Regions from separate parts of the Homo sapiens genome. Here all the other regions are linked to region 2. Evidence: promoter capture Hi-C in 16 types of primary human blood cells and fetal thymus (Javierre and others, 2016). All regions are on one chromosome and are shown on one strand. The core of a region is centred on a gene start or on the middle of the fragment in contact, and the rest is flanking DNA. Distances in the headings are between cores, read along the strand shown. Region 1 holds the start of LOC107986285 (a long non-coding RNA gene). Region 2 holds the start of AMBN (ameloblastin). Region 3 has its middle 240 kb from the start of NPFFR2. Region 4 overlaps ADAMTS3 (ADAM metallopeptidase with thrombospondin type 1 motif 3). Region 5 has its middle 69 kb from the start of GC. Region 6 has its middle 48 kb from the start of GC. Region 7 overlaps ADAMTS3 (ADAM metallopeptidase with thrombospondin type 1 motif 3).

What was found. The method cuts DNA at HindIII sites, captures the fragments that hold promoters and counts their contacts. A CHiCAGO score of 5 or more calls a contact.
Region 1: a fragment that was not itself captured here is called in contact with the fragment with the promoter of AMBN in region 2 in 1 of 17 cell types (fetal thymus); the score reaches 6.3 in fetal thymus.
Region 3: a contact is called between a fragment that was not itself captured here and the fragment with the promoter of AMBN in region 2, in 1 of 17 cell types (total CD4 T cells). The highest score is 6.6, in total CD4 T cells.
Region 4: a fragment that was not itself captured here is called in contact with the fragment with the promoter of AMBN in region 2 in 9 of 17 cell types (naive CD4 T cells, fetal thymus, naive B cells and 6 more); the score reaches 9.1 in naive CD4 T cells.
Region 5: a fragment that was not itself captured here is called in contact with the fragment with the promoter of AMBN in region 2 in 2 of 17 cell types (M2 macrophages and fetal thymus); the score reaches 6.6 in M2 macrophages.
Region 6: a contact is called between a fragment that was not itself captured here and the fragment with the promoter of AMBN in region 2, in 4 of 17 cell types (total B cells, fetal thymus, M0 macrophages and 1 more). The highest score is 6.9, in total B cells.
Region 7: a contact is called between a fragment that was not itself captured here and the fragment with the promoter of AMBN in region 2, in 4 of 17 cell types (total B cells, non-activated CD4 T cells, M2 macrophages and 1 more). The highest score is 7.6, in total B cells.

Annotation. Positions count from the first base shown.
Region 1 is chr4:71,591,239-71,594,535 of GRCh38, forward strand. LOC107986285 (a long non-coding RNA gene) reads left to right here and starts at 2,277. Exons shown (of 4, transcript XR_001741716.2): 1 at 2,277-2,457. RefSeq lists an enhancer at 1,817-2,526. The HindIII fragment of the contact is 272 bases long and covers 1,785-2,056 here.
Region 2 is chr4:70,590,595-70,594,215 of GRCh38, forward strand. AMBN (ameloblastin) reads left to right here and starts at 1,662. Exons shown (of 13, transcript NM_016519.6): 1 at 1,662-1,779; 2 at 2,733-2,801. The coding sequence starts at 1,765. The HindIII fragment of the contact is 2,262 bases long and covers 1,117-3,378 here.
Region 3 is chr4:72,275,230-72,278,746 of GRCh38, forward strand. No RefSeq gene overlaps it. Among named protein-coding and RNA genes, the nearest start is that of NPFFR2, 240 kb to the left of the region's middle. The HindIII fragment of the contact is 7,237 bases long and covers 1-3,517 here.
Region 4 is chr4:72,296,206-72,299,802 of GRCh38, forward strand. It overlaps ADAMTS3 (ADAM metallopeptidase with thrombospondin type 1 motif 3), which reads right to left. Exons shown (of 22, transcript NM_014243.3): 18 at 2,072-2,237. Among named protein-coding and RNA genes, the nearest start is that of NPFFR2, 270 kb to the left of the region's middle. The HindIII fragment of the contact is 4,703 bases long and covers 1-3,597 here.
Region 5 is chr4:71,712,844-71,716,698 of GRCh38, forward strand. No RefSeq gene overlaps it. Among named protein-coding and RNA genes, the nearest start is that of GC, 69 kb to the right of the region's middle. The HindIII fragment of the contact is 7,070 bases long and covers 1-3,855 here.
Region 6 is chr4:71,734,559-71,738,174 of GRCh38, forward strand. No RefSeq gene overlaps it. Among named protein-coding and RNA genes, the nearest start is that of GC, 48 kb to the right of the region's middle. The HindIII fragment of the contact is 395 bases long and covers 1,352-1,746 here.
Region 7 is chr4:72,314,206-72,317,856 of GRCh38, forward strand. ADAMTS3 (ADAM metallopeptidase with thrombospondin type 1 motif 3) reads right to left here. Exons shown (of 22, transcript NM_014243.3): 11 at 1,653-1,766. Among named protein-coding and RNA genes, the nearest start is that of ADAMTS3, 250 kb to the right of the region's middle. The HindIII fragment of the contact is 2,341 bases long and covers 733-3,073 here.

The DNA of each region.
Region 1 (3,297 bases), core at 671-3,170, 1.0 Mb after region 2:
TGATCTCTTAGTTGAGTGCATTTTTTCCATCTTTATAACTTACATGTAGAACAAATTAAGGCAAAATTAGAGAAGTATCCAAATCCATTAATTTTACTAATTGGAACTATTAACATTGTAGGTTGCTAATGTTTTTCTCCTTCTGACTATAGAATCCAGGTTATTCAGGAATAAAGATTGTGGATGTGTGTGTGTGTGTGTGTGTGTGCGCACACATGTGCATTCAGGAAGTAGACAGCTTATTAAGAAAGAAAAAATCAAGATGATCAGCAAGGCACTATTCCTATTTTTAGAGTTAGGAAAGTTCTGTGATTAGATAGAGGCTTTAAACCTTAACTCAGAAGTTAGAACTTCACAGTCCCCTTCTACTTCTTCCCACAAGAGTGGCTGAGAGAAGTCTGCATCCCTTCTTGAACAACTTTCAAGGAGCCCAGGGATGTCTTGCACATGGTAGACACTTGATAAATATTTGCTAAATAAGTGAATTGTTAAATGTATATATAGCCAGTTCACTCTTCCCATGTCTCTTCTTACTCATAGGAGGTTTTAAGAATGGGCTGTGTTTCAGAATTATACAGTCAGACTAATTACACATATTTATGATTGGATGCTAAGATTAATTATTATAAATTCCAATCTTACTGCTTCCTAGAATAGCTTGTCATAAGATCAGAGTGATCATCAGAGTGATCATCATGAAGCTGTGATTCAATCCAAACAGCGTGGAGTCAGAGTCTGGCCCTTATTCAATAATCCATGTGAGATATCTACAAAAAACAGGGTAAGGAACCTGAGATTGGCAAGGGGAGGTGTATTGTTTTAGTAACATGGTCAGAGAAGGCTTCTTTGTTGGGGAGCATATGAGCAGAGACTCAGATGAAGTGTGACCTCTGCTGCCTTCTCACACAGAATGCACTATAAGGTCATTAACCTATTATCAGTTTCCATTTTATCTGTTATCTTTCAATTAGATGGCTCTCCTATCTCCCTCAAGATCCTATTCTGGCAAAAAAACATAGCTTCAGGCATGGGTACCTGTGCTGTAACCTACTTTCATGTTCTCTCTTCTTATTTATATGAGTCCGTTGCTCCCTCCCTCATTCATGGAGGTAGTCATGCTGACCTGTAGACTAGTCTCACAGCACCCTCAACAGGGATATTAGGAAATAGATAAATGAATTTAAAGTATGATCCCAACAGACTCACATGAGTGTCATGATAACAAGAAAATGTACAAAATGTTTTCTTGATCAGGACCACAGATAGATGACATAGGAAGAAGGCAAAGTCACAATTCAATGACTTCATGTTTCTGTCCAAGGGCACGTTGGACCATGCCGATCCCATATATCTTGTGTGGAATGGTGTCCACACTATAGGACTCTGACCACCCATCCAGAGTTAGAGGCAAGAAAAATGCGACAGAAACAAACTGGGTATCTCAAACAGGCAACAATTTCCCAAGAAAAAAAAATATTTAAAAACTAAGATGATCAGATTTTAAACTAGTTTGGGTCTAAAGCGGAAGGGAATGTCTGCGTAGAGCTCTATAGAGGCATGTCATTTCTTTTCTGAAGTGGGCAATTTTAAGATTAGTTAGGGCAAGACAAGTAAACTAGTATATTTCAATAGTTCCTACCAATAAATATTTGTTTAGCTCCTGCTGTGTTAGGAGACCTTTTATTAGTGAGGGGCTCGCAATCTAGTGGGAGAAGATAAATTTGACTGCAAAAATGCAGGAAGAGCTATTACCTTATCTCTCTTCTAGCTTAGGAGTCTGGGAAAGCTTCCCAGCTTTGCTTATTATTCCAAAAAGCAAGCACAAGTTCCAGGTTTCTTAGCCCACAAGTCTGCTAGTATACATGACATCTAAATGTAGATCTTGAAATTTTCATGGTCTATTTCTAAGCCTGTTGCCATTATTAGAGGCTCCCTCTTTGCCCACCTCCTCAAACACTTTCCCAACAACAACCTCCTCCCCCAGCTGAAGCCAAACTACCATACCCTCTCTTTGATTGTAAAATTTCTAGTGAGAAATGAGATTTACTGTTAGTTAAGCTTCTTCCCAACCTATGTTCAGGGACTCTACTGATCAATTACCTTTGTTCTGCTAGAGAATTTTCTTTAAGTTTCCTCTGTAATTTCCAGAACTAGAGGTGCTTAAAAGTGACCAAGTTGTTGGCTCTCTTTGTATCTCCAAACTTAAAGGAGAGTGCTGTATTTGCTTTTCAAAGCAAGTTGAGAATTGACATCTTTGTGATGTTGATTCTGCTAAGAGGAAGATGGTATACCTTTCCAAGTATTCATCCCAGCCCATTGTTTCTGACTTGTAGGGTTTCCTTCCAAGCATCAATGATTATGTGTGGCAAGACAATAAGGACATCTACATGATTTATTACTCATATTTTCCACCATTGAAGTCAGCTTGGGAAGCAACAACTTGGCAGGACTCAGAAGGTCTGTTTCCCTCCCTTTGATGCAGAGGTTTTAGGTAACTCTTATACTTGTCATATCCTTTATCTTTATGATATCATTCTTGTTCTCCATGGCAAACCACCCCCTAAATCCGGCTTAGATCTCACTTACCTCAAAGTGGAAGGAATAGATATTTCTGACTCTGTCTCTAATAAATGTTTATTTCATTTGCATGTGGTTTTCTCACTATGGGGCTGTTACAATAAGGAGTTGGTACTAGGGCTGGGGTGACTATGGGTTGAGATTGTTTAGTGTGACTTTGACAGATCCTTAACTCAGCTTGGTCTGTTCTTAACTATTGTGATTAAAGTATATGAATGATTCTAGATCCTGCCTGCCTTGTTTTATCTATTTTCCCTAAGTTCTGACTGGTTGGCACACTGCCACCTGGATTTGTTTATTCAACTCTTTCTATTTATACTGTCTGGTGTTAAATTACAACTTCTATCATATAGATGTCTCCCCTGACATCTTCCCACAAATTGCTGGCCATCTGTGATTAACTGTAGTGCATACTCTCTATTGTTACACCCAAATGTAATTGAATTAACAATCTGAGCAAATGCCATATTTTAATATAGCCAAACACAATTATATTAATAATTTAAGGCTAGTCCCTTGAAATTTTTAAATAACTAAACTTATAACACATTTGAATAATTTGACTCTGTTAACAGGTGCATAGTGTAGTAGAAAAAGCCCTGCTCAAGGAGTCAGTCAGGCTTGCATTTGACTTTCATCTCTGGCAGTTATTATCTGTTGCTTTGGAAATTTAGACATATTTCTTAAATTTTTTGAGCCTTGGTAATATCTTCTGTAATG
Region 2 (3,621 bases), core at 412-2,911:
TCAACTCATTCATTCAGCACCCAATAAATGGCAGCTGCTGCATCTTCACCATCTCACCAATCTTTAAGACAAGCTCAGGCTGGGCGTGGTGGCTCACGCCTGTAATCCCAGCACTTTGGGATGCCAACACAGGAGGATCACCTGAGGTCGGTAGTTTCAGACCAACCTGGCCAACATGGGGAAACCCTGTCTCTACTAAAAATACAAAAAAAGTTAGCCGGGCATGGTGGCGCAGGCCTGTAATCGTAGCTGCTCAGGAGGCTGAGGCAGTAGAGTCGCCTGAACCCAGGAGGCGGAGGTTGTAGTGAGCTGAGATCACACCACTGCACTCCAGCCTGGGCAACACAGCGAGACTCCGTCTCAAAAAAAAAAAAGACTAGCTTGTGGTCATTAATTATTATCCTTACATAACAGAAGAAGGAACTGGGGCTCAAAAGAGATTAAGGGACTGCATCAAGCACCAGAGACAGCATGAAAAATAATACTTTTCATTTCAATAACATTTTGCTGTTTGCAAAACACATTCACATTCTTCATTTCTTTGCATCCTAAAGATAATTCTGGTATCAGTGGAACACAGAGGTTTTCAGGAGCAGCTTCTAAGATAACATTATTTGAAGCTGTTAGGCCTACATTTGGGTATGGATACAGCTTTCTCTCAAAATACCAGCTTCCTCAATGTTCCCTGTAATTGACAAGATCCCTACTTCCCTAAAGAGTGTACTGACTCATCCCTTCTTCAGAACTAATCTTAAATGCTTATCCCTACCATATCTGAAATCACAACTTTGGAAAGACAAGGATGGGCAGAGAAGTAACAAAAGCAGCTAATATTCAATCCACATCCAAGATATTATCTGTTCACGGAGAAAAACCAATCTGTGTTGACGTTAACCTTTTAAGTGATCGAAATATGTCTTATTAACCTGGCTTGATACTAATGCCTGGGAATGTGTCTATCTGAAGAGTGAACTGACACTTGTGCCCATTGATTTGGTTCATAGAGAATGTTCTGATTTACGTCCCCGTCCCCACAGATTTTTTTTAAAATGCACCAAACGTTTACCTGAAGTAAACCTGATTCTTGCAAAGGGTCCAACTGTAGTTTCTTACAAAAGCTTGGCTATCTCTAATCAATTATCTCCAGATATGAAAATATCTAGGAAATTCAAGGAAGAAATCACACACATTAATTTTCCATCTAACATTTTAGTGTTTTCTTTTAAACTCTGTGTGTGCTGGGGGGAAGGACAGTAGTCTCTTTTACTACAACAAACAGGAGGGTGAAAACCTGAAGAATGCTAGCATTGGGTCACTAGCTTTATCTGCAGATAAAACCTGCACAAAACAGGTTTTGTTTTGCACCTATTTTACATATATTTTCCCCAGCTCACCAAAATAATTGTCTTCAGAGCCTATGTCCATTATTCCTTTACTGCCTTCCCTGCTATCAAGTTCTCTGAATAAGTACAGGGGCTGCAGTACAATTAAAAATAATGAGACCCTACTGGGCCAATGTCCCTGCACGCAATAAAAGGGTGTGGACTAATTGCAGGAGCAGAGATTCCCGCCCCAACTCCCCCCCGCCACCCCTCGCCATTTTGCTTCACTTTGATTGGTGGATTGGCACTTTAAATAAAGGTTTCTAATCTTCCCTGAATGAGAAGTACAGAGCAAGTCCCACGCACAGTCCTGAAAAAAATTTTAATCTTCTTTTCTTAGAACTATCTTGGTTGGCATCATCAGGCCCTGAGAGCACAGTGCATGTCAGCATCTAAGGTAAAATGGGATTTTATGATTTCCATGTGTTTCCTGTAAATTCTTTTTTTCCTATCTCCTGACAGCTTTTATAAAGAGGATTTATCTTCATTTGTCACCAGTAGCTGAATTATTGCTTGTTGTAATCCATTAGCATGTCCCAGAGATGACATGCCTAACACCCATTCAACTAAGAAAAAAAAAAAGACTTTTATTTATAGATTGTGTTTTTTTTAATGTTTTTGATTATAGTGCCTAATTCTTTTTAATATTAGAAGATGAGTAAATTTCTAGGCTATTCAGATCTCTATTCATGTAAGAATAAAGAGCTTTTTGAATTTATAGAATAAATTTTAAAAGATAATTCATTTTAGGAAGAGGAAAGCTAAATTTGAGACATATTTTCCACTAACATCAAAGAAAATTAAGATAGCCAATTTACTCTCATTTGAAAAGAAAAATTTTGTCATGGTTACGTAGATTACCTAAACATGCAATGATGTACCCTCTATTCCTGCAAATAAAGGTTTGTTATAAAATGACTTAGTTGCATTACATTTCACATGCATTTCAAAATGTGTCCCAAAGGGTAAGCAAAGTATAAACTTCTGTGAATAATACCTTATAGACCAATATTTTACTTAGTGGGAAGGATTTTTAAACTCATAATTCACTTTATGAAATGAAATATATCACAAAGAATATCGATGGAGGTTGTTCCTACATACTTATTTAGGCTGTAGATCCATTTAAAACGTGCTTAGATATTTTTTAATTGCTTGTTAATTTATTTCAGAAACTACTACATACAAATCGGTTGTTTAGTAACATTTAGTTTTTGTTTTTGTTCTTCTAACCTTTATCCCGGTGGTTTTTGTAAGAGCAGAGACTCAGGCTCATTTTCAAAAATTGTCTTTTAACCATTCTGAATAAAAATTCATCTGATTTAATTCTCCAACTTAATTATGTTTTAGATTCCACTTTTCAAAATGAAGGACCTGATACTGATCCTATGCCTCCTGGAAATGAGTTTTGCAGTGCCGGTAAGTCAGTCTTTAGAGTGTGTCCCAGAAAAGGTTATTGATTGTCGAACTCCAAACAACACTGAAGGGATATGGACTGAGAGTCCACGCATAGACTCACTTGATTTAATCCAGTGGTTTAGTCCTATTGAGTCAAAAGCCATAGTTGCTCAGATGTCAGTCTTGCAATCCAAAAGCGGTAAGTGATAGCCGGGTGCGGTGGCTCACGCCTGTAATCCCAGCACTTTGGGAGGTTGAGGCAGGAGGATGACCTGAGGTGAGGAGCTTGAGACCAGCCTAGCCAACATGGCTAAACCCTGTCTCTACTAAAAATACAAAAATTAGCCAGGCGTGGTGGTGGGCACCTGTAATCCCAGCTACTTGGGAGGCTGAGGCAGGAGAATTGCTTGAACCTGGGAGGCGGAGGTTGCAGTAAGCCAAGATTGTGCCACTACACTCCAGCCTGGGTGACGGAGTGAGACTCCATTTAAAAAAAAAAAAAAAAAGCAGTAAGTGAAGTATGATATTTCTACTAAAAAGTTATTTAAAATAGTCCCAAGACAATTTCTAGATCTTATTCCACTCATTCAAAGTTAAAAGCTTAGATAGTCTCCACAATGCATGGCGAAATTTTATTATCAACTTATTGCTATCATTATAAAGTTGAAATGGAAAGAGGAAATTTCTTTGAAAAAAATACATTTTCTTCATTTCAAAAAGAACTATCTCTAAATTTCTATGGTTACAAAACTCAGCTAGATAATTCCATTTAAAGCTAGTAATTAACTAGCAAATTTACCTTGTAAACATGAAATTGTGTGACTGAGAGCTGAAGTTTCAT
Region 3 (3,517 bases), core at 529-3,028, 1.7 Mb after region 2:
AGAAGTCCCCAAAGAGAGGGAGACAATCACAAGGCAATTATGATAGTTCCAGACAAAGCCTATTGTGAACTAGGCAGAGACAACAGGGACAAAAAAGAGGCAACAGAGGCACGAGACATTTTAGAAGTGAAATAAACAGAACAAGGGAGCTGTTTATATATGCAGAGTAAAAGACAAAGAAAAGAATGATAGTGAAAAAGCATGGCTGGTTTTTGGCAAGGCTGATTTTAATGAGGAACACAGAACATAGGACTAAGAACTAGGTTTCTTGGAAGGGTAGTAATCACTTGGTTTTTAGAAATGCTGAAGTACAGTTGTGACGGCAGAGGTAAGATGTTCAGCAGACATGTGGGAATGTGTTTGTGGTTTGGTACAGATGTGAAGGCTTACTCATGGAGATTTGGAATTAACTTTATAAGAGGTCATGAAAGATGGAGGAGCCAGCCAATGGGACTGAGAATGAGGGGTCAGAGAGTGTTGCCCTGGATATCCTACAAATTCCCATCTGACATATAAATTATGTAATACCAGACTGTACAATAGCAAAGTCTATAATATAAAAATTTACAATAAAATCAATTGTAATAGTATCCTTAAAAATACATTTTTAGGCACATGAGCTCATTTGATTCACACTAGAAGTCTGTCAGATAATACTTTCATTCAACTTTGTAGATGAGGGAACTACATACTAAAGAAACAAGTCCTACGGTTCGTGAGTGGAAGGCAGGATTTAAACCCAAGTTGCATGAGACCAAATCCTGAGTTCTTCTCACCAAGGCCATGTAATGCTGGAGAGAATCTGGGAAAAATGAAGGCCAGAGTTTTTATACCGACCCACGAGATTGTGTGTGATTTCTCATCTCTTATTTCCTTTTATCTTCTCCTAGTGACCCCATCAAGCATCATATCCACTTCACTGTCCTTGTTGCTGTTCCTTGCACTTACCAGACATATTGCACTTTAGGGCCTTTGCACTGGATGCTGCTTTTTCCTGGAATGTTCTTCCCCAGAGATTGTAGAGATAATTTTCTTACTTTCTTCAAGTTTTTCACCCTCTAAATGAGTTCTACCACTACTCTCCCACTCAGTACTGCACTATGCTCTTCTTAATCACTTTTTAACATACTTGATATCAAAACCATGCATGGTGGTTATTGTTTGCTGTGTTTCCTCCACTACAATGTACCCTCTATAGGACAGCAGGAATTTTCGTTATTTTCTCACTACTATATTTTAAGCACCTAGAATGCTGTCTGGCACACAATCAGAGCATAATAAAAGTTTGTTGAATCCATGAATTCTCCAAGTGAGAAGGAGTAATTAGGAATGACTTTTGAGAGTGCTTCTTCTGTTGTGTTCTTGGGGTAGAATACAGGCTGCAGTGGGCCCCAGAGTGAATGCTGGTAAGGGTAGGAAAGAGGAGAGGCAGAGAATGTAAGCCAGCCCCTTGAGAAGTTTGGTGGTGAAGAAAGGAGATCAGAAAGTGGGTCAAGAAGCAGAAACAGAGTCAAGCAAAAGTTTGATTCTTTCTTGTATGATAATGCAGACCTGGGCCTGCTTGAAAATTTAGTAAATCTGTATAAGAAAACACTAAAGATTCAAGTCAGAAGAACAAATACGAAGGGAAGAAAATCATAGACCTGGCTATATGGCTGAAGAGACTATCCAGATCACTCACATCATTCAAGAACATTTCTAATGGTCATGAAAACCCAGAGCAAAAGCAGATGGAATCAGAGTGGCTGCTGCTTCTAACAACTGAATCTCCATGTTAGGAATGTTGTGGAAATTAACTAAAGCATTCCACTAGACGATATGTTGCTATCTCCACACACCATGCAACATCTGAGATGTAAAAATAAGCGTTGCAATGCCCCACTCTACACAAAACCAGAATATTATTTAATACATTCCATTATTTTGGACAGGTCTTCTGAAAAGGCTATAGAAATGTAACTCATTCCTGTTGCCAATATATACAAATGAAGATGTCCCTAGCATATAGCTGGACACATTTCTGGGTAATATGGTAGTTGCAGTAGGTTCATTTGGAAGTGCAAAGTACTTCACTCTTAGACCTTCACATATTAGCTGTCAAAATGCACACTTCAACTCTCTTCTTTAGGATGATCACACAGACACTTGCTGATCTTGGGATAATTGACTTCCCTTTCATTGGAGTCCCTTATTTTTATGGAATAGACGCGTCCTGGCTATGGGAGAAAAAATGAACTGAAAGTTGGAATACTAATCTCTCTTCTAATCCCAGTTACATCCAAATTCACAAATGAGATTTTGGAGACATTACCTTTGGGTCCTAATCCTATTCCTGGAAAAGGAAGAGTGCTAGGCTAGATAATATCTAAAGATCCTTTCCGTTTCAACACTAGCTAGTTCCTGTTCCTGTCAAACAAGTTAACAGAGACATAAAAAGTCTAAAAACAGAAGGGATACCACAGTCATAGCTCCAAGAAATCTGTTTTTGGCAGCAGAGTTTTTATAGAATGTAGTAGATGTTATAGTTACAAAGTTTGTGCCATGGGCAGGGCACAGTTCTAGGTACTAATGAATACAAAATAGATTTTCTTTTGTTTGTCCAGGGACAAAATGTATATAGTTCAATTACAATTAAAGGGTATATATGAGCCCTTCTTCCCTTGGCATATAAGACCAAGAGCCCCTTCTCCAGGTCCCAGAGAAAGGCTGTCATCAAGAGAAGAGGATTAACTTGGTGGCAGCAAGTCTGAGGACAATATCTTGTAGTACATGATGCCACCATAGAAAAAGCAGTTGCCTTAATCTTTGGAGTCATTTGCCAGGTTGTGCCTATTATGAAAAACCTGTTGCATTATATACATAGTTCATATAACTTTCTGCTTCTATTCTTGTGTTCCACATTCTTTTGGGCACATGGGATACTTTTGGGCAGAAGGGACTTTGTGGAAGTCATTTCCTTGGTTTAAAATATTCAAATGGAATCCTTTGAAGTTTGTTGATCATCCATCAAAAGATACATTTTTAAAAAATAGATATTCTGGAGAAAATAACAATTGCAATCTTTTACCAAACACTTAATGTCTATCCCATGAGGTACTGTGTTTATTGTTTTTCCAGGATTCTCAATTTTTTTTGCTCAAACAGCTTTATGAAGTATGTACTGTTATCATTTTCATTTTACATATAAAACAAGTGGGCTTAGTCACATTAAGTAACTCCTCCAAGTCACCATTAGCTGACTTCAGAACCAGGAGGTAAACCAGCAGTCTGATTTTAGTGCTCACAATAACCAGAGTATCATAACTTCTTCAGAAATTTAGAAATCTTGTCATTTTGTTTCAGGAATAGCAAGCAGACCTACTGGCTCTGTATCTTCCACCATGAGAAGTTTGTTTTTACCTTTAACTACTAGTGGGAGCGAGTATCTTCTTGTAAGTCTCCAAATATCTCATCTGAAAGAGTTGTTCTTTGTGTAGATTTGTGATTTTAGCACCATTTGTTTATTCAATAGCAGATT
Region 4 (3,597 bases), core at 1,081-3,580, 1.7 Mb after region 2:
TCTTCAGCAGAATACTGAAGTTCAAATAGTATGGGGTAATGGAAATGAAGCAGAATTATTCTCCAAGCAAAGGAAATAACGTGTGAAAAACTGCGGTTTCTTCATGTGGCTAGAGGATCATGTGTGAAGAGTGCACGAGTTAGGGAAGGATCAGATCTTGAAAGCCTTCAGTGTCTAACAAGTTTCTGGACATTATCCTGAAGGTTATAGGGAGTTACTGAGGGTCTCTCAAACATCAACTTTTATATTTGTAATTATGTATATAAATTTGAAAAAATTCAAACCTATCCAAAAGTTGTAAGAAAAAACAATATTTGTATACCTTGCATCTAGATTGATCTTTTGTGACTATGTCACATTTGCTATATTTCTTTATATATGTGTATGTGTGTAAATATACATATAATTTTGCTGAACCATTTGAAAGTTGAGGACATCCTGATCCTTCACTCCTAAATACTTCAGCACAGATTTCAGAAGTACATTCTCTTATATAACTATAATATAATTCTTAAAATCAGGACATTTAACATAGACATAGTGCTATTATCTAACATACAGACCTATTCAAAAATGTTCAGTTGTCCCTATCATGTTATTTATGGCAATCCTTTTCCAGTCAAGGATCATATGTTGCGTTTAACTGTTATGTCTCCAGCCTCCATCAATCAGAAATAATTACTGAACCTCTTTTTGTCTTACGGCATTTACTAGTTTTGAAATTTAAAAACTATTTGTTTTATAAAATGTTCCGAAATTTGGGCCTGTTTAACTGTGTTCTAATGATGAGATTCAAGGGATTCATTTTTAGAAAGAATGCTACATAAAGTGATGTTGTGTCTTCAGGGCAACATGTTAGAAGACTGAAGGATTTTAATCTGGGAAATAATATAATTTTACCATTCATTCATGCATGCATTCAAGAAAAATTACCCTGTAAATTAAGGAAGAGAAGAACATCAATATTAGTTGACTAGTTAAAAGGCTATTGCAATAATCGTCCCTCCCAAAGTGGTGACTGGAGTCTGGTGAAGAAGGAATAGATGTGGTAGATATGAAGAAGGTATATCTGACAAATATTATGACCAAGTAAATGTTGAGAGTACAGCAGAAGGGAGGGTCCAAATTAAATAAGCATCTTGTAATGGATAAAGAGATGTCATTTAAAATACTTAACTATTGTATTCTTCCCTCAAGAAAACACTTTAGAAATACAGCCTTGAACTTAAAATTATAAAATAAATAATTTACACAAGCACTGCCTAATACAAATTTTGTTCTCAATTATTTGCTGTCATTTTTGTAACAGCCTCTTGCCTTCTCCTGCCCATGGTGGGAAATTGGTAATGGAGCACTTGTTTAGAACTAGAGGAATGGATGATGGGAGAAATTGAGAGACATTAAATCCAGCTTAATGGACTCTGGAGAGGGAACGGAGGCAGCACAGTGCAGTGAGTGAGAGCATGTGTTCAGAAGCCAGGTTATCTGGGTTTGAATCCTATGGGCTCTGGGCAATTATCTTCTGTGTGCTTCAGTTTTGCTACCACTTTAACAGAGATAACAACAGTACCAACTGCGTAGGGCCATTGTGAGTATTCATGCATTGATATATAAAGCATTTAGAACAGTATCTGGTTTCAAATACATAGCATAGTCAGTTACACAGTCATGTAACCAATAGCTCTTTTGTTATTAACTCTGGTAGAAATGCAGAGAGATACAGAAAGCAAAAGTAGGTAAGAAGAAAGATGAGGACCAGAGTACACTGAATTTGGGAGAGTTTTGGAGTTTGGGAAGAATAAAGTGATTAAGGGTACCACTACAGTAAATGCAAGACAAAGGACCTGAGAGAAAAGGGCAAGAGGATTTTAAGGTCTGTCACTGTTATGAAAGGAATCCTATGATTTGGTGATTCTGAGATTTCAGTAAAAATGTTTTGTATTGATGTTTTGATGGTTATGTTTGGTGTTTCTCAGATTGTGGCCTCGATTAGAGACAGCAATAAAGGTAGAAGCAAGATTGGTTTTTATATGCATTACATTTTAATATAATAAATGTGTTCAATGGTTACCTCCACCACAGGGTTTGGAACACTGAGACCAGCTCTTCAAAGCCCACTCAAAAGTATCTAATTCTTCCTGGATGACATTGTTGCTGTTGATTGTAGGTACAGAGTCTTCATGGATGATGTACTTATATGTCAGGCTAGAGCGGGTATCATTTTCTTGAGGTATAATCTAACATACACATGAAATCAATATGTAAATCACCTGAGGGTTTTAAATTTTGAGTGTAAAATTACAAATATTTCAGAATATTGCTCTTATTAAAACTGAAAACTTTCAAATAGTTTCAAAAATTATAATGTTTTTATTTCTATAAACCATAGTGCAAATGTGCCCTGTTTAAGAAAAAGATGAAGTATCTATAAAACTTTTAACATAAAAGTGTTAAAAAATACATACACTGAGGAGTAAGAGTTTGTATTATAAAAATAATAACTTTATAAGGTTCACTGTAGGTTTCCTTAAATTATATCATCTCCTTTTTAAAGGATTTTAACTTTTAAGTGTAAAGAATTATAATTAAAATTAAAGGATTAAAATTTTTAAATTAAAATTTTTAAATTTTTAAATTTTTTGAATTTTTAAATTTAAAAATTTTGGTGCATTTTAAAATTGTCTTCAACGGAAATTGTTGTGTTGTGATGATAAAGATAGTAATGTTCCCTCCAGAAAATATATACATTATGGAAAAATAGAAAGAAAACGAAAAATCATAATTCTACCTAACTAGAGAAAACCAGTCACTTTTATTATTGTGATAGTCCCTCAAGATATTTGCATTCTGTGTGTGTGTGTGTGTGTGTGTGTGTGTGTGTGTGTGTGTGTGTGTACAGACATATTTACTTTCCTGGCTTTGTTTATTTCATGTAACATGCACATTTCTCAAAATATTCTTTGAAAACATGCTTTTGGAGTGTGGAATGATGGTCATTGGAGACTCAGAGGGGTCAGAGGGAATGGAAGGAGGGCTGAATGATGGGAACTTGCTTGGTGGGTACAATGTGCATTGCTCCAGTGATGGATGCACTGAAGGCCCTGACTTTACCACAATGCAAGATATCAATGTAGCTAAATTGCACTTGTACAAAAAAAAGTTAAAAAAAGAAAATATACTTTTAAATGTCAGCATAGTCTGTAATCCTAAAATTGTTATGTATTATTGTTAATAAGTGTGTGGTAACTCTTCAATATTTGTTTTCATTAGAAATTTTCCCAACCTTTGTGGGGATTTCTGGCGTTTCTTAGTAGACTGAAGGGAACAAACACTTTTTATAATTCTAGTTCTTCTGATAGACTGGTGAATGGTCCTCCGGAACAGTTAGAACAATTGTTACTTTAATAATGAGAGTGTATGAAAGTGGCCATTTGACACTACATGTTACATAATTTTCACCTTTATTAATTGGATGGGAAAAATATCATGATTTTAGTTGTTATTTATTTGATAACTAATAAAGTTTAATTTTCCTAAGTTTATTACTCACATATTTTAAACACTGTACATTGCATGACTGTCCTGGTTTTTATTGGA
Region 5 (3,855 bases), core at 1,172-3,671, 1.1 Mb after region 2:
GAGGAACCAAATACTTTGGCTTCTGCAATCTAGGTTCGGTATCTTTAAGAGTTACTGGTCTGTGTAGATTTTTGCTAAGATTGGAAGCCCACTGTGTTTACCTGGAGGCCTTCAGGCTGACTCTCCACTCTTTGAGGGGCATCTAAGTGAACACAGGCTGCAAATACAGCTCAGAGGGCTCTTAGATGGCCCTGTTGAGAAATTTTAGCAAAGATGGATTAAATCAAAAGACCTAGGTTCCTTCTGGACTTACAGATCAAGGATCTGGAAATTTTTACAGCATCTTAGACTGGAGAGGATTCCATGAAGTGTTTCTGGGCCCATGGCTGTTCTGTGCAGTCTCTGAACCAGTCCATAGCCACTGGCTTATGTATACAATTATTAGGAGAGAGGAGTGGTGAATGATCTGAGGGCATCCAAATGGCAAGGGACCAAATCATAATAATTTAAAAAAATACCCACTGCCCAAAATAGTTGCTAACATTTATTAACTGTGATCTTATTGTGTGAACATTTATTGTGTGATCTTATTCAATCATTACAATACCCTTTAAGGGATGGACACTATTATTTCCCCCAATTTTTAGATAAGGAAACTAAAAAATATTAATTACTTGATGTCTCATAGACAGAAAATGGAATTTTTCTTTTTGAATGGCTCAAAGTAAAAAGGAGGACATTACTGTTTAAATGTCTTGTTTTTTATTATGGTAACAATATGCAAAAAGTTTTAGATCTGCAAGACTCCCTTTGATTTTATGGTGGGAAATCAAAAACCCTGCAATACTCATTTTCCCAAGATCATGCAAGTAGTAAATGACAGAGCTGAGAATAAAACTCATGATTTTTGACAAACAAGGCAAAGAAGTCCTTTTCACTAACTTCTTGATGGCAGAATTTAGAAGGTTATGGAAGTGGTTGGAAGCCTGCCATTATACAGTAACCAGAAATTTGCTACCACCTAGTGGGTCAATTGAGTAATTTACATTTTCAAAAGCAGTTTCAGATATTGCATATTGAGCAGCATAAACATACACACACACAAAGAAGGAGAATACAAAGAATATGGGGTGAATAGGGATTTTGAAGATTCTCTAGTCTATTGCCAACATTTTGCAGATGGGAGCGTTTGAGTGTGAAGAATTGACAGGCTTCTCCAAGGTCACACAATAAATATAATGGAGGCAAAACTGGGAGTAAAACTCCAGTCTCTTTGGTTTTGGTTCAGTGTTCTTTTCCTCTGGTACTCTATAAATAGGAAAGAAAAGGTTCTTTCAGTTAATGGAATCCAAAATCAAAGTATTTGCCTGAAGTATTTTGAGGCTTTCAGCACACATATATCATTCAACTTTCTATTTTGGCAGTCAAGTCTTGGTTATATTAGTGGAAAGGAAAATGTTTGTATGTAATAGGGACATATATCTGTATATCCATATTTATATACATTTATGTTTATATACCTGTACTTATAATTATACCTATACTTATATACCTACACTCAGAGTGCTCCTAAAGTTGCTAGGTTCTTGTTTACATTCCTGTTAGCATCTAAGCATAAAAGATATAGGATGTTTCTTGATGCTGTATCCTTAGATACTAACAGGGATGAAAACAAGAACCTAGCAACTTTAGGAGCACTCCAAGACCTGAGGCTGCCAGGGGTGTTGAGGAAACCAGAAAAGAGTATAGCTATCCCCTTATTGAGTCAACATTAGGAAATACGTCTGCTAATATTGCTCATTCTTATTCACTGAAAGATGCCTCATAACCTCCAAAAAGGCCTATAAGATAAAAGTAATTCTTAGTCTATTTATCTTAGGCTAATACTAGAATAAATTTCCATTTCTTGGGCACGTAATAACTTGTGATATACTGGAAGTAGGCTGGATGGCAGTAGAATGCTGTTCAGTATTTTTTTAAAAAATAGTTAATAAAACAGATGAATAGACTGTAAATAATCGAGTATATATTGTATAAAGTATGCTTCATGCCATTATTGTCATAGTGGTAAAGGAGTTTTATAACAAATTTTAAAGAAGCTGATTTCAAAAACATTTTTATTTCTATTTTTGATAAATTTATTTTGCATATGAAATAGCACATAAGATCTACCATAATACACTTTTAAATATTCTTAAGAACTGGTTTGTTGTATCTATACATGAAATGGACCATTACTTAAAATGGTGGGTCCTTCTTTGTCACATTTGTTAGATTCTTTCTTAAAACAATCTATCTTGGGAAGTAAGAACTGTTTGACTGTGTTCTTTTGAAAGACAGCAGGGGAACTAGGGCAGAGACAAACATGGGCTCCTCTCAGGAAAAAGCAGTCCTTTTTTTTCTTGGATGATTTCTAAAATGTCCCATATGGAGATTTTAGAGAATTTCTTGGTTTTTCACCCCTTTTTTACATGCTCTAGGTATGCTCCTCCAAGACACTCTCATAGGTGGAAGCCACCATCAAGCATCTTGCCATCTTCACTGTACTCATTTGTCATCATCTTCAATTTTGCAGGATTGTAAACACAGTGAAAAATTTCAATATACATTCAGTAATTTTAAAATGACAATGAGAGAAAGAAAGAAAGATAGAAAGAAGGAAGGAAGGAAGGAAGGAAGGAAGGCAGGCAAGCATTAAAACTTTTAAACCCAAACAAAAATACACAAAAGGAATCTGGCTGCTTGTTTGGATACATAGGTAGAAAAATGTCTTTCTGACCGAAGCAAGAACAATTTCCTCCATTACAACTTTGGCCATCATTTAGATAAGCTGCTTTTCTTTAACCACTATGCCTAATAGGCAGAGATAGGGCAGGATCTAGTTGAGATCCACCACCATCATTTAACTTGTAGCCAATCACTTAATCTCTGTATGTGTTAGTTTCCTAATATAAAACTGGTGTAATTATTATAGCTATCTTACAGTTTTTTTTGGTGTGTGTGAATATGACATACTGCAGTTAAAGTGTTTAGAACAATGTTTGGCACATAGTAAACAATTTTAAGCTATTAGAATAACTAAGAATGGGTTGCAGTTAGTTTTTTTTCTTTTAATTTTAAAAAAATTTTTGCATACATAGTAGTTGTATATGTTTATGGTATATATGAAATGTTTTGTTACAGTCATGCAATGTGAAATCATCACATCATGAAGAATGGAGTATCCATCCCTTCAAGCATTTCTCCTTTGTGTTACAAACAATCTAATTACACACTTAGTTATTTTGAAATGTACAATTAAGTTAGTATTGACTATTATTGACTATTATAGTCTCCCTGCTGTGCTATCAAATAGCAGGTCTTATTCACTCTTTCTACTTTTTGTACCCATTAACCATTCCCAGCCCCCCGCCAACCCCTCACTACCATTCCCAGCCTCTGGTAAACCATTCTTCTATTTTCTATATCCGTAAGTTCGAGTGTTTTGATTTTTTAGACCCCACAAATAAGTGAAAACATGCAGTGTTTGTCTTTTTGTGTCTGGCTTACTTCATTTAACAAAAGGATCTCCAGTTCTATCCATGTTGTTGCAAATGACAAGATATCATCCTTTTTTATGGCTGAATACCACATGAGTACCCTGTGTGTATATGTACCACATTTTCTTTTTAAAAAAATTTATTTTAAGTCCCAGGATACATGTGCAGAATGTGCAGGTTTGTTGCATGGGTATACATGTGCCATGATGATTTGCTGCACCTATCAACCGGTCATCTAGGTTTTAAGCCTCACGTGCATTAGGTATTTGTCCTAATGCCCTCCCACCCCTTGCCCCCAACCCTCCGACAGGCCCCGGTGTGTGTTGTTCCCCTCCCTGTGTACATGTGTTCTCACTGTTCAACTCCCTTTTATGAG
Region 6 (3,616 bases), core at 299-2,798, 1.1 Mb after region 2:
TAAAATACCTAGGAATCCAACTTACAAGGGATGTGAAGGACCTCTTCAAGGAGAACTACAAACCACTGCTCAATGAAATAAAAGAGGATACAAACAAATGGAAGAACATTCCATGCTCATGGGTAGGAAGAATCAATATCGTGAAAATGGCCATACTGCCCAAGGTAATTTATAGATTCAATGCCATACCCATCAAGCTACCAATGACTTTCTTCACAGAATTGGAAAAAACTACTTGAAAGTTCATATGGAACCAAAAAAGAGCCCGCATCACCAAGTCAATCCTAAGCCAAAAGAACAAAGCTGGAGGCATCACGCTACCGGCCTTCAAACTATACTACAAGGCTACAGTAACCAAAACAGCATGGTACTGGTACCAAAACAGAGATATAGACCCATGGAACAGAACAGAGCCCTCAGAAATAATGCCGCATATCTACAACCATCTGATCTTTGACAAACCTGAGAAAAACAAGAAATAGGGAAAGGATTCCCTATTTAATAAATGGTGCTGGGAAAACTGACTAGCCATATGTAGAAAGCTGAAACTGGATCCCTTCCTTACACCTTATACAAAAATTAATTCAAGATGGATTAAAGACTTATATGTGAGACCTAAAACCATAAAAACCCTAGAAGAAAACCTAGGCAATACCATTTAGGACATAGGCATGCGCAAGGACTTCATGTCTGAAACAGCAAAAGCAATGGCAACAAAAGCCAAAGTTGACAAATGGGATCTAATTAAACTAAAGAGCTTCTGCACAGCAAAAGAAACTACCATCAGAGTGAACAGGCAACCTACAGAATGGGAGAAAATTTTTGCAATCTACTCATATACTTTTGATATTGAAAAGAATAGACATAGACAGTCAATCCATTGTTAGAAACTTTTTTACTTGAGTAGAAGCATTGTATGAATCCCAAGTGCCTTATCCATGGATGGGCAATAAGGTACTACTATTGTTAATTGCAAACTAGAATTTTCCAGAATGCTTTAGCTATGAAACTAGTAGCCTTGTGGTGGTGGTTGTCATGGAAGAAACAATTAGATGTTTTCTTGGCCTAATAGAGAGAAAAGAATATTTCAGGTCCTGGAAAAAATGGACAAGGATAAAATAGCCTCTGGGAAAGAGAATCTTTTGACCTGATTATCAATGACTGAGATCTGTTTAGTGGGAATAAGAGTTTATTTTATAATTAAGGACAAAAATACTCAAAATGCAGTGCAGACTGAGATAATACAATGTTGGAAATTTACACTTGCTACAGTTTCATTAGTTATGTGGCCAACCTCTTTAATTGGTTAATCTAAAGTGCTTTTCCCTTTCTAATTTGGGTGAAGGCACCAAGCTTCTAAAGCAGTGATTGGCAGGTTTGGTTGCAGGGCATGTTTCACTCAAGATAGCTTAAATCTGAATCTCTGAGGGGGTGCCTGGGCACTGGTATTTTTTCCAGAACTCTCCATATAATTCTAAGATGCAGCTAGGGTTGGGAATCACATTTATAGGTTGGGGAAGGATGAGACCTCTGTGTTGGGGAGAAGTGCACACCAGGGAGACCAGAGATGTAAAAACAACCTTCTAAGCCTTCCTATTTGAGCTATTTATCTCCAAATGGAAATTGGGTAAACTCTCAAGCTGATCAAATTCTTGCTTCATTAGGGCCTATTGCTATTGAATTAAATGACACATTAGAAAGGCCTTTCACTTGTTATGTTTTTAAATTAAAATCATCATAAAAAGAAGCTTTGTTTCTTTAGAACTTCCAGGTGAGATATTAATACTCTAATCCCGTGAAGACCATTTAAGGTGATGGTTCCCAGGTGATATATAAGAACGACTTGTGGGATGATCTCGGAATCCAGAGAAACACAGGAAGTCAATACTGCAACTTGAAAGACTTTAGACCTTATAGATGACAAGAGAAAGTTTGTGAGATAGTTAAATTGTATGTGCCAATTTGTCTAGGCTATGCTAATCATTTGTTTGGTGAAACATTAGTCTGGACATTGCTGGAAAGAGATTTTGCACATGTGATTAACATTTACCATAAGTTGACCTTAAGTAAAGGAGCTAACCATTGATAATGTGATAATCTGAGTGAATGTCATCCAGTTGAAAGCCTTAAGAGCAAAATCAGGTTTTTCCAGAAAAGAAGAATTCAACCTCAACACTGTAACGTAGAAATCCTGCTGGTGGGCTGGGTGTGGTGGCTCATGCCTGTAATCCCAGCACTTTGGGAGGCCACGGCAGGCAGATCATGAGGTCAGGAGTTTGAGACCAGCTTGACCAATATGGTGACACTCCATCTCTATTAAAAATACAAAAAAATTAGCTGGGTGTGGTGGTGCACACCTGTAGTCCCAGCTACTCGGGAGGCTGAGGCAGAAGAATAGCTTGAACCCAGGAGGCAGAGGTTGTAGTGAGCTGAGATTGTGCCACTGCACTCCAACCTGGGTGACAGAGCAAGACTCCGTTTAAAAAAAAAAAAAAAAGAAATCCTGCCTGTGTTTCTAGACTATTTCAGACTTGCCAGCTTCACAACTGCATAAGCAATTTCTTAAAATAAATCTCTTTATCTCCTGCTGTTTCCTTGGAGAATCCTAACTGATAGAACTTGTAAACATCATTCTTAGAAACAAATTTGATATGGTTTGTCTGTGTCCCCACCCAAATCTCATCTTGACTTCCCGTGTGTTGTGGGAGGGACCCAGTGGGAGGTAACTGAATCATGAGGCCAGGTCTTTCCCATGCTGTTCTCATGATAGTGAGTAAGTCTCATGATATCTGAAGGTTATTATAAGGGAGAGTTTTCCCACACAAGCTCTCTTTGCCTGCCGCCATCCATGTAAGATGTGACTTGCTCCTGCTTTCCTTCTGTCATTAATGTGAGGCTTCCCCTACCACACGGAACTGTGAAGTTGCCCAGTCTTGGGTATGTATTGATCAGCAGCATGAAAACAGACTAATACAGTAAATTGGTACCAGTAGGGTGGAGAACCACTGAAAAGATACCCAAATATGTGGAAACAAGTTTGGAACTGGATAACAGGCAGGGGTTGAAACAGTTTGGAGGGCTCAGAAGAAGACAGAAAAATGTTGGAAAGTTTGAAACTTCCTAGAAACTTGTTGAATGGCTTTGACCAGAAGCCTGTCAGCCATATGGACAATAGGGTCCAGGCTGAAGTGGTCTCAAATGGAGATGAGGAACTTGTTGGGAACTGGAGCAAAGATGACTTGTTACGTTTCAGCAAGAGACTGGTGGCATTTTGCCTCTGCCCTAGAGATTTGTGGAACTTTGAACTTGAGAGAGATGATTTAGGGTATCTGGTGGAAGAAATTTCTAAGCAGCAAAGCATTCAAGAGGTGACTTGGGTGCTGCTAAAGGCATTCAGTTTCATAAGGGAAGAAAGCATAAAAGTTCAGGAAATTTGCGGCCTGACAATGTGATAGAAAGAAAAGCCCATTTTCTGAGGAGATATTGAAGCTGGCTGCATAAAATTTGCATAAATAATGAGGAGCCAAATGTTAATCTCTCGAAGACAATGGGGAAAATGTCTCCAGGGCATGTCAGAGGTCTTCATGGCAGCCCCTCCCATCACAGGCCCAGAAGC
Region 7 (3,651 bases), core at 653-3,152, 1.7 Mb after region 2:
TTTTTAAAAATGATAAAATAAACTATGTCTTGGTTTAGATAATAATATAACATGTCTAAAACATATGCAGCTTTCAAAGCACTTTTATTTAACTTTTAAAATGTTTCATTAACAATGATTCTGAGAGATAGATGGGTCATACATATATCATCAACAATTAGATGAGGAAAATTGAGGCCCAGAAAGGTTCATAAGTAGTTGAAGGCCATCTGACCAAGAAGTAATTAAGTGGGGCTACCAGAACCCTAATACTATAGAGGCACCTAGCTTACAGTGCCTGGCATGGTGCTCAAGAGACATTAGCCATTTTCCTCTCTAACATTTTGACTTACTTTTTCACACTACGTACAATAAAAGCATTTGTTAAAACTCAACTTCTATAAATTTCAATATAACACCAATATATTTAAGAAAGTTGAATGTTAAAAAGTTAATTATATAATTTTTTATAAAGCAAAAATGAATTAACTCGTTATACTCTTGTTTTTAGTCAGAAGTTTATGATATTGAATTTTCCCAAAGCAAAACATTGTATACAAGGTGCTTTGCATAGTGCCTAATATAATGCAAACACTTAAAAAGACAGGTTTTATTATTATTATGCATATAATCCCTGTCACAAGTACAGTTTATACACATTTGAAATTGAGCTTTAAAAGAAGTAAATGCCATATAAATCTTCTGTACCAGGTTTTGGTCCTGCCTACAATTTCTTATTTCTAAACTAGTCAAAGCTTTTCAACTTGAGTTCTTAACATGCCTTTGTTTTGGGATCTTTGCCCTTATGAGTAGCATAGCTTGGCACTCAGCCAATTTCTGAGCATTCAATCCTGACTACACAATTTGAGATTTAAAACCTCTGGGCATCCTTCCCTAAGGAACAAGGCCAAATCTTCTGTATAAGTTCACATGACTTTATTTCTGGGCAACTTTCACAAGGAATGGCATGCCAGCAAGTCAATCAGATCCCACTACCAGGGGGCAGATAGTCTGCTGAGTTGCTTCTTCCTATTCTGCCAACAGTGGGCTGAATGGTAGTCCCAAAGATATCAAGTCTTAATCCCCGGAACCTGTAAATGTTACCTTATTTGGAAAAAGGGTCTTTGCAAATGTGATTAACTTAAATATTTTAAAATGGAGAGATTATCCCAGATTATCCATGGGGTCCTAAATGCTGTTACATGTATCCTTATAAGAGAGGGGTAGAAGGAGATTTGACCCATAAAGATGAGGAAAACGCAATGTGGCCACAGAAGCAGAAACTGGAGTGGTGCAGCCACAAATCAAGAAATGTGGGGTGGCCACCAGATGCTGGGAGAAGCAAAGAAAAGATTCTCCACTACAGCCTTTGGAGGGAGAATGGCCCTGCCCACACACTGATTTCAGTTCATTGAAATTGATTTTTGACTTCTGGCCTCTAGAACTGTGAGGGAATAAATATCCATTGTTTCAAGCCAACAAGTTTGTGAAAATTTGTTACCTTAGCCACAGGGAACTAGTACACTATTTTAGTACATTACTTTAATAAAGCCTTGCATACTATGGTTTTCATAAAAATGACAGTGCAGCTGTGTTTACCATTTTCCAGACCTTTAAAGATGATAATTATGCAACATATCTTACATATTTATTGTGTAAATAGATATACTCACTTTTCCAGCAGCACATTCAGTCCCATCAAGTGGAGGTCCCTTTTTAGTCTTACAAAAGTAGGGATTATCAGGATGGCTACACCACAGCTGTTTACATGGGTCAAAGGTTCGGAACTGGAAGATAGATAATCAAATTGTCAGTGAACTCTCAGCTAGCATGACATGCACCAAAAATATATTCTATACAGTTTCTTCTGTCCTGTTTCTTGGATGTGTTTATTTCAAGTTAATAGCCAATGTTTTGACATGTTGAAAAAAAACTGCATAAGAATTTCAGGTAGAAAATACTTTTATTCTGCTTTTCTAAAATAACAATGATAAACAATGATTTGTCTGAGATTATCTGGTTGACTTTTAAGGTTTTTGCTTGCTGTTTTTATGTTTTGTTTTTCAAATAGACAATGTTGAAATTTTCTAAAGACTTAGTAATTATCATGAATATTGTAAATATGAAAATATAATGGTTTGGCAGCTCTCAAGCTATCAAAATGTCTTTTCTTTATCTCTGTAGGTATCAGATAGATAGTTGAATATAAATAATAAAAGGGCTGGGCACAGTGGCTCATGCCTGTAATCCCAGCACTTTGGGAGGCTGAGATGGGTGGATCACCTGAGGTCAGGAGTTCAAGACCAGCCTGGTCAACATAGTGAAACCCTGTCTCTACTAAAAACACAAAAAAATTGGCCAGGCATGTTGGTGCATGCCTCTAATTCCAGCTACTTGGGAGGCTGAGGCAGGAGAATCGCTGGAACCCAGGATGTGGAGGTTGCAGTGAGCCGAGATCAAGCCACTGTACCCTCCAGCCTGAGTGACAACAGTGAGACACTATCTCAAAATAATAATAATAATAATAATAATCATAAATACTTATAATTAATTGACTAAAAGCAGAAAAAAATTGTCAAACTTTCTGTGTAAGATAAAGTATTCTAGGTACAACAAAATATCATAATACATTCATATAGTTTATGAAATATTTTCCATATATTTGATTCTCATACCAATCCATTGCTGAGAAATATGGGTTACAAGTTAGGGCTATAGTTATGGTTATAAGTAAGACAGCAACAGCACAAGACTAGAGTCTTGGTTTTCATACTCTTCAGAATGGTTTTTATTTTCTGAACACACCACATTATAATATCCAAATGTTTGTATAAGCAAACATGTGTATTTGTGTGTTCTCTTTGCTTGTTTGCTCTTTTTCTCTCTAAATGTAAACATCTTACCAATCATTATATTTTTAAAAATATCAAACAACAGCTAATCCACATATCTATTGCCTATACTGCTAATTACCTACATACACCCTTATGTGCATAGAAATTTTTTTATTAGTACACATTTTTAGATGTGGGTTTTTTGTTCTAATCCTTATTATCGAATGTGGAAATTCCACTTTTCCATGACATTAAGCCAAAGCTTTAGAATTCTCTGATTTAAAACATTAATGCAAGTAATTAGGAGCTCACAGTGTATACCTTATAGACAGACCAAATGGTTGTATATGGAAGGTTTCAAACAGCAGATCAATTTCTTTCTAGCCCCATGAAACACTTACGTTCCTTGCTCTAACACCCAAAGCTTGCTCCAACATAGAAAAAGGCCTTCTTTTTTTTTTTTTTTTAATGAATTACTAAAGACCAATGTGGAAATTTAATGAAATATACATCTAATGTGAATAGTTACAGGCAAGACTGGCTTTAATGGATTCCATTTAACATATATACGTGCCTTTCTTGTGCTAAGCACTTTAATTATATTATCAAATTTAATCCTCACACCAATCTTATCAGATACATACTATCATTATCCACATATTACACATGAGAAAGTAGTCCAGAGAGATTAAATACGGTGCCCAAGTTTATATATTTAAAAAGCATCAGCTGGGCACAGTGGCTCACGCCTGTAATCCCAGAACTTTGGGAGGCCAAGGCGGGCAGATCACAAGGTCAAGGAGTTTGAGACTAGCCTGGCCAATATGGTAAAACCCCG